2 separate regions of the Homo sapiens genome follow, and region 2 is linked to region 1. Evidence: promoter capture Hi-C in human tissues and cell types (Jung and others, 2019). All regions are on one chromosome and are shown on one strand. Each heading gives the region's core, a stretch centred on a gene start or on the middle of the fragment in contact. The rest is flanking DNA. Distances are from core to core; before and after follow the strand shown. Region 1 holds the start of MFSD8 (major facilitator superfamily domain containing 8). Region 2 holds the start of INTU (inturned planar cell polarity protein).

Region 1 (4,211 bases), core at 888-3,387:
GCAAGTTACTTAATCTCCCTGCCTTCCATTTCCTTGTACACATGAGACAATTCCCCCCTCAGAGGATTGTTGTAAGGATGAGATGAAGTAATTCAATGAGCATTCATCCAACATATATTTATCTAGGAGCCATTCTGCTTACTGCTATACTGGTTAAAAATCCCCTTGTCCACTATATATGTGCCATACATTGCTAGCCCCCAGGAATTAAAAAAGACAATATAATAAAGCGACATTATGGCAAGAAAATACTAACTTTTCTACCTATGTGTCTTTTTGGAACCAATAATACAAATCTGACTTGTTTTTGTGAGCTGTTACAAATGAATCTGCAAGACTGAATCCAAGTACAAAATATCAGGTCTTGATTTAGAAGATATTTCTGAATAGCACGTTTCAAGGTTTTTGGTTTTTTTTTTTTTTTTGAGACAGAATCTCACTCTGTTGCCCAGGCTGGAGTGCAGTGGCGTGATCTCGGCTCACTGCAGCCTCCGCCTCCCGGGTTCAAGGGATTCTCCTGCCTCAGCCTCCCGAGTAGCTGGGACTATAGGCGCCCGCCACCACGCCCGGCTTTTTTTTTTTTTTTTTTTTTTTTTTTTTTTTTTTTGTATTTTTAGTAGAGACGGGGTTTCACCGTGTTAGCCAGGATGGTCTCGATCTCCTGACCTCGTGATCCGCCCGCCTTGGCCTCCCAAGGTGCTGGGATTACAGGCATGAACCATCGCACCCAGACCGCACGTTTCAAGTTTAGGTGTTCACCAGTGAACTGCGCCTGGCTGATACACACAAGGTCACAAATGACACAAAGATCAGAAGTGATGGCATATACCATACATGACTGTGTAACTAGTATAGGACCTAGCATAGGGTAAATGCTCATAAATATTAATTTAAAAAAATTAAGTTTGGTTTCCAACTTTGCCACTTCCACACAGAGTGACTCTGGGTTAACTTGTCTGGATCTTAATTTTCAGTAAACTAGCAATGTGTCTGCTTCGCCTATCTCATAGGATACTTGTGATCAAATGAAATTACATGACAATGTATCTGGCGCTAATAAAACGGTAATTTATGAGACACAGAATGACTACTGACGCCAGCTAGCCTACAAGCCTAATAGTAGAGATAAGATGTTAATACATAACCACCAAGAAATAAACATGGAGATCTAGTGAAAACCCATGACATGTTTTCTAAAAATGTCATCTTCCTTGTGACGAAAGGAGCTGGTCATTGCTAGGCAGGTGCTGTACCTTTTTCAACTCCCACGTTTCAGCAGCAGGCTCTGCTGAGTGACATTTTGCAAGGCTGAGGCCCCCGTAGGCGCAGGCGCCGTTGGGGTGCGCATCCGGGGACCTGCAGGTTACAAGCAGCAGATCCCACCTTCAGTCCTGGCTCTGACAAGCCCTCCAGGTAAGGCGCCTTTGCATTTAGCCGAGCTAGAGAAGAGAGCTGGAAGCCACCTCTACCTTTCACGGGGGGAAGGGACTGCCCGCGCGCTCGCCCCCATTATCTCAGCCCTCCGAAGCGCGCCACGGACTCCAGCCTTGTCTCTCACCCCCAGCCTCACCCCGCGTCCCTGACCCGCGAGTCTCCCGCCCAGCTCCGCGTCCCCGGTCCCTGCCTCCAGGCGCGTACACGGCGCGCTAAGAGGCGCGGGGAGCTCTTAGCGCACCTACTACTTAACCGGACCGGCTACTTACTGGCCGCCAGGTGGAAGCCTGCGATCGAGCTGGCCGGGCCTCCCAGCACCGCCGCTCTCCAGGCTCCCTTTCCAGGACTCAACTTTGGTCCCAGCCCCAATCGCAGCTCCGGTAACCTTTCCAGGAACCGAAATGCTAGATACAGCGGAAGGAGAAACGGAGGGAGGAAGACAAACCCGGAGCAGGGCGGCGCGGCAGTTTGGACACGCCCCGAGCTCTCCTGGGCTCTCAGTCCCCGTCAGGATGGGAGGCGCGTGCCGAGGGAGGAGGCTGAGGACACAGCCTCCTTTCGCCCTGCGCTGCCCGGCCTTCCGCGTGACCCCGCCTATGACCTCGGGGCGTTCCGCCTACGTCTGACCGTCAGGTGCGCACGCGCACTTACAGGCTTGTTTTGCCAGCTTCACGCCACCCGGGATGGGAGAAAGCAGGTGTCGCGAGAGTTGGGCGCAAGACGCCTTGTAGGGAGTGTAACTATGGCCGGCCTGCGGAACGAAAGTGAACAGGAGCCGCTCTTAGGCGACACACCTGGAAGCAGGTGAGCGGATCCTGGTGGAGGGACCCCTCAGTCTCCTGCGCTGTTGGGACTGGTTCCTTTCCGGGCGTCACCCGCACTGGGACAAACCCTCGCTGCCAGAGGGGTTCCAGCGCGGTGGGAGCCGGTGGCTGGGTTGTGTGAGCCGAGGAGATTCGCTCCCAACGTAGGAGAAAGGGCGTCTGGCCGCACCGTGCGGTGATGAGCCCGTGGGTTCGAGTGACGGGGCTGGAGAAACCCAGGCTGCTGCTTTGCCTGTTGCAGCACCCAAGCTGAGAGGTGACAGCGTGCTGGCAGTCCTCACAGCCCTTGCTCGCTCTCCAGGCCTCCTCTGCCTGGGCTCCCACTTTGGCGGCACTTGAGGAGCCCTTCAGCCCACCGCTGCACTGTGGGAGCCCCTTTCTGGGCTGGCCAAGGTGGGAGCCGGCTCCCTCAGCTTGCAGGGAGGTGTGGTGGGAGAGGCGTGAGCGGGAACCGGGGCTGCGCGCCGCGCTTGCGGGCCAGCTGGAGTTCCGAGTGGGCGTGGGCTTGGCGGGCCCCGCACTGGGAGCAGCAGGCCGGCCCTGCCGGCCCCGGGCAATGAGGGGCTTAGCACCCGGGCCAGCGGCTGCGGAGGGTGTGCTGGGTCCCCCAGCAGTGCCAGCCCACTGGCGCTGCGCTCGATTTCTCGCCGGGCCTTAGCTGCCTTCCCGCGGGGCAGGGCTCGGGACCTGCAGCCCGCCATGCCTGAGCCTCCCACCCACTCCGTGGGCTCCTGTGCGGCCCGAGCCTCCCCGATGAGCGCCGCTCCCTACTCCACGGTGCCTAGTCCCATCGACCACCCAAGGGCTGAGGAGTGCGGGTGCACGGCGCGGGACTGGCAGGCAGCTCCACCTGCAGCCCCGGTGCGGGATCCACTGGGCGAAGCCAGCTGGGCTCCTGAGTCTGGTGGAGACGTGGAGAACGTTTATGTCTAGCTCAGGGATTGTAACTACACCAATCGGCACTCTGTATCTAGCTCAAGGTTTGTAAACACACCAATCAGCACCCTGTGTCTAGCTCAGGGTTTGTGAATGCACCAGTCGACACTCTGTATCTAGCTACTCTGGTGGGGCCTTGGAGAACCTTTCTGTCAACACTCTGTATCTAGTTAATCTAGTGGGGACGTGGAGAACCTTTGTGTCTAGCTCAGGGATTGTAAACGCACCAATCAGCGCCCTGTCAAAACAGACTACTCGGCTCTACCAATCAGCAGGATGTGGGTGGGGCCAGATAAGAGAATAAAAGCAGGCTGCCCACCAGTAGTGGCAACCCGCTGAGGTCCCTTTCCACAGTGTGGAAGCTTTGTTTTTTCGCTCTTTGCGATAAATCTTGCTACTGCTCACTCTTTGGGACCATACGGCTTTTATGAGCCGTAACACTCACCGCGAAGGTCTGCAGTTTCACTCCTGAAGCCAGCGAGACCACGGGGAGGAACGAACAACTCCAGACGCGCCGCCTTAAGAGTTGTAACACTCACCACGAAGGTCTGCAGCTTCGCTCTTGAGCCAGCGAGACCACGAACCCACCAGAAGGAAGAAACTCTGAACACATCTGAGCATCAGAAGGAACAAACTCCAGACGTGCCACCTTAAGAGCTGTTAACACTCACCGCGAGGGTCCGCAGCTTCATTCTTGAAGTCAGTGAGACCAAGAACCCACCAATCCCGGACACAAAGCCACCACATTCTGTATCTTCTGCATTCCATATTTGGCCCTTTGTAGCTGATCACTTTCCAGATTTCACAGTTTCAAAATGATGGTTTTAATAGATACTTGAAGGTATCGGTCTTAGTAATGACCTGCTGCCTAATTGCCTGACAACCTCTTGATAGTTTAACAAATCTGTCCAAAATGAGCTCGCCTTTGTCCTATGCCAAATGTACAAAGAAAGACTAATTTTAAGGCATTAAAGGAATAACGTCAGTATTTTGATCCTTATAATTCTGGTTGTTCTG
Region 2 (4,211 bases), core at 962-3,461, 330 kb after region 1:
CCAGGTATGGTTGTCCATTACTGGGTTAGTTGACATTTTGGCACCAAAACTTTTTCACGATTAGTCATTCTCTTCAAGCTACTGCTAGTTGACTTTTCTAAAGTTCTTAATCCATAGCAGTAAGGGGTAGATTTTTCTTAAAAATGAAGTAGCACTGAATACTGTGAATCAAAATAACCTTTTCATGGCATTATTAAGAAAGTGAAACCTTTAGGTATCTGTATTTTTAAAAATTAAATTATGACGTAAAATGGAAAACAAGAAAATCATGGAGATGCATAGGAAAATACAGCAGAAATATCCAGAAGTGCTGAGAGGTTGTCCTTGATGGTGAGACTATGGGTGGGCGTTCCTTCTGTTATATAGCTATTCATTTCCATAACAGAAAAAATCTACATAAATTTAACAACTGCCTTATAAAACGCGTAGGGTGTCTCTCCACTCCAAATACTAAAGAGATTAAGCCACAAAGGTCACACCAAAGAATCAAGACACTGCGATCGAAACAGAGTTTTTTGAACGCTGTTACAGATATATCCTCCTATGGCCTAGACAGAGCCCATGACCAAAAAGAGGAGATTCTCCTCATCTAAGAATCATTGAAAAAACAAAACAAAACAAACAAAAAACAACCTACAGTAGCAAAGAATGGCATCGTCATTTCTGCTCACACCACCATACAATGGAACGTGGTGCAATTAAATCCCACTTATTATAGAACCCCAAATACTCGATTCCAACCACGCCAACACCCTTGCAGTTCCCCCAGCCCACGTGTATATTCTCTGGATTGATGGGATGGGATTAATTGTCCCTCTTTGAAAACCTTACTCATAATCGCTACTCGCTGAGGAATATGAACCCGAGTCGCTGACCCGATCTTCAAAATCATAGTCCTCATCTTCTTCTTGTGAAGAGGGGTCTCCAGGGAGCTCGTCTGAGCTCGGACGCGAATCGCACGAAGCCACAGAGGCCATCGTCAGGAATGCAATAGCTACGAGTGGAGTAATTCAAATCTCGCAGCTATAGCTTGCTAAGGCCGCCATGTTGCCTCTGCTTGGGAAGGGGCAGAGGCCATGTGACCACCAATCCTTAGCTGCAATTGGTGGCAGGTCGCGTTGCCAGGGAGACGGAGAAGCTTCCCAGAAGAAACAGGGAGAACAGAAAGCAGCCAATGGGCTGAAACTTCCAGGAGGGCTTCTCAGTTGGAAGGATAGAAATAGCTAAAACTTCACCGCTTACGCTCTCCGGAACGCAATTCCTTAGAGCAGCATAACCTGTTAAAACAGGCGGAGATGCACTGGGCTTCTCACCTTTTTCTTCCAGTGCTGGATATCCAGTTTGCTCTTTGTCCTGTGTTTCTAATGCCTAACAGCTGTCGGTCAGCCTGGATTTCCTTCGAGGTGAAGGAAACCGCACTTTACCTTTCCTTAGGACCTCATCCGTGCAAGTAATGGACGCTTTTAAGCAACGCGATCTAGGTGTTAATGTAAATACGCTCCATTGTTTTATGGGTTTCATATTGTTTCGCAATTGCAAACATTTTCACGGTTATCCCAAGTGGGTATTGTAGAGTGCCACAAATGAGTGGCAATCCTGTGGAATCAACTTCATGTTCATTTTCTAACTCAAAATTTTATAATCTAATTAAGTGTTCTCATTATTAAAGTTGGAAGTGTAAACAGGTAAAATCTACCTGTTATTTATGAATACCTATATCAAGTATTTTTTAAGTACAAAAATAACAGCTAGCATTGATTGAGAGTCAGCCTTGGCTCTGCTCACTTTATTCATATACAATGCTGAGCATTCACATACTATGAAGTAAATATTTTCTCTATATTAAATAAGGAAACTAAGCTTTAGAGAAGTTATGCATCTTACTAATGGTTACATGGCTAGCAGTCAACAAAGTCAACCAAGAAATGAACCTAAGTCAATAACCATTACATGAAATTTCCTCCCTCAGAACCCAGTAATTCAACTATTAGATATCTACTCTGAGAAAGGATGCAAATTTATAAAATTTGTAAAAGTGAAAAGCTGAAAGCAATCTTAAAATGTCAAATAATGGGGGAAAAGTTAAATATATATAAAATATGATGATTATGATTTTAACTAGAATGTGTTCAAAGAGTAAAGCATGGGGGAAATGTTCATGTTGCAGCGTGTAAAAAAAGGATATAATGTTATTTTATGATCTAAAAGGCTGGGTGCTGGGGATTCTCTAATGGGCAATTATAACATAGTGATAAGTATTACAATAAATACAAGGTTCTAATGGAATATCCAGAAAAAACCAAAGTAGTATACGTGGGGCCATGACAAATTTCTTAGAGGAAGTATTAATTTATATTGTTATTATGGCATGGTTCCAACAGAGAAAGAGTAATGGGAGATGAGTCATCACATGGCCGGTATGGGTATATGCATGGAGAACTCAAAGGAACCTGAATTGTAGCTGTTGCAGGGGCAGAAAAACTCTACCTCCATCTTCTTAGGGTCCCAGCTGGGCCTGAGAATTAAACTTACCTAAAATAGATTAACAAAAGAAAAGCAACTGGAACTTGTTATACAGATGTTGAGGCCCTGCTCCACATCAACAGGATCAGAATCTCCAGTGGAGGGGCCTGGAAATCTCTATTTCAAACAAGTGCCCCCTGTGATTCAGCAAACTTGGGGAACTGCCCTAAATTTTCTCTCAGTTCTGTGCTTCATCTATACAGGCCAACTGGCCATTCCCTGAATAGGCTGGAACCCACTCCCACCTCGCAAATTTGAGCCTGGCAGACAGACCTCTCTCCTTGCTCTAGAATCCAAGTTTTACATGGCAGGGGAGCCCTCATAAAGAAATGAAGACCCAAAGAAGCAGTTAGAGTCAGTTAACTTATATACTGGATTGGACAAAGAATAGTTAGTTGTGAAGAAGCAACTAAACTAAATTGGGAAGCTTAAAAGATAAGTTATTTTAACAAGGTCTGTACAGAATTCTCTTGGTTTCACTTCTATGCCCTTGAGAATAAGAATGTTACATTTTTCTAGTATAGGGAGGGTGTCTTTCACATGGGAGCTTCATCTGTTGCTTTTAAGAAGCAGCACAAAGGCACTTGCTGTTTTTCAAGTGTATTAAACTTAAATGGCCAGGATAGTATATTTTACCTTCCTCACAGCCAAACAAGCTGCAGTATGCAGCTTATACTTTTAAGCTGAAGTTTAGTTGTATTTACATTAACTGTACATTACATGTACAAATATACATTAAACTATGTACATTTGAATTTGTATATTACATGTACAAATGTACATTAAACTATATACATTTGAATTTCCTAGGTTTTATGGTTTTGTTTTAATTTCTAAATGTGTTTTTATAGTGTTATAACAGCGATTACATTTTGTAATTTATTTGTATTAATTCATAAAATTGTTTTCATCTTATATAGGAGCTATAAAGCACAGATTATACCTCATTTATTTAAAATTATAATTAAAAAACTTAAGTCATCCATGGAAATCCACAATAGTTTTTCCTTAAAAGAGGTCTATATGTTACTAAAGTTGAAGAACAGGAGGAGGAGTTTGTAAAGGGGTAATGGGCAAAAGGAGTGTCAGAGGCATTTGAACCAGAGCGACTCCATCTTGAATAGGGGCTGGGTAAAATAAGGCTGAGACCTACTGGGCTGCTACTCAGGAGGTTAGGCATTCTTAGTCACAGGACAAGATAGGAGGTCGGCACAAGATACAGGTCACAAAGACCTTGCTGATAAAACAGGCTGCGGTAAAGAAGCCAGCCAAAACTTACCAAAACCAAGATGGCTACAAAAGTGACCTCTGGTCATCCTCACTGCTCACTATACGCGAATCATAATTAGAGTACAGTGAGCAGTGAGGATAATGAGCATTAGTTGCTAAAAGACACTCCCATCAGCATCATGACAGTTTACAAACGCCATGGCAATGTCAGGAAGTTATCTAATATATTCTAAAAAAGGGAAGACCCCTCAGTTCTGGGTACTACTCCCCCTTTCCCAGAAAACTCATGAATAATCCACCCCTTGTTTAGCATATAATCAAGAAATAACTATAAGTATACTCAGTCAAGCAGCCCATGCCGCTGCTTTGCCTATGGAGTAGCCCTTCTTTTTTCCTTTACTTTCTTAATAAACTTGCGTTCAATTTACTCTATGAACTTGCCCCGAATTCTTTCTTGG

Evidence for each region. The method cuts DNA at HindIII sites, captures the fragments that hold promoters and counts their contacts. A contact is called where the count stands out against the background at its distance.
Region 2: a fragment that was not itself captured here is called in contact with the fragment with the promoter of MFSD8 in region 1 in 1 of the 25 tissues and cell types used here (H1 embryonic stem cells).

What each region holds. Positions count from the first base shown.
Region 1 is chr4:127,963,099-127,967,309 of GRCh38, reverse strand. MFSD8 (major facilitator superfamily domain containing 8) reads left to right here and starts at 2,137. Exons shown (of 12, transcript NM_001371596.2): 1 at 2,137-2,238. The coding sequence starts at 2,177. It overlaps ABHD18 (abhydrolase domain containing 18), which reads right to left and starts at 1,904. Exons shown (of 13, transcript NM_001358451.3): 1 at 1,704-1,904. RefSeq lists enhancers at 25-524, 525-1,026, 1,705-2,320, 1,911-2,330 and silencers at 1,421-1,650, 2,771-2,820, 2,831-2,960, 3,071-3,180. The HindIII fragment of the contact is 8,084 bases long and covers 1-4,211 here.
Region 2 is chr4:127,629,801-127,634,011 of GRCh38, reverse strand. It overlaps INTU (inturned planar cell polarity protein), which reads right to left and starts at 1,055. Exons shown (of 16, transcript NM_015693.4): 1 at 832-1,055. The coding sequence starts at 977. RefSeq lists enhancers at 1,026-1,205, 868-1,407. The HindIII fragment of the contact is 3,914 bases long and covers 255-4,168 here.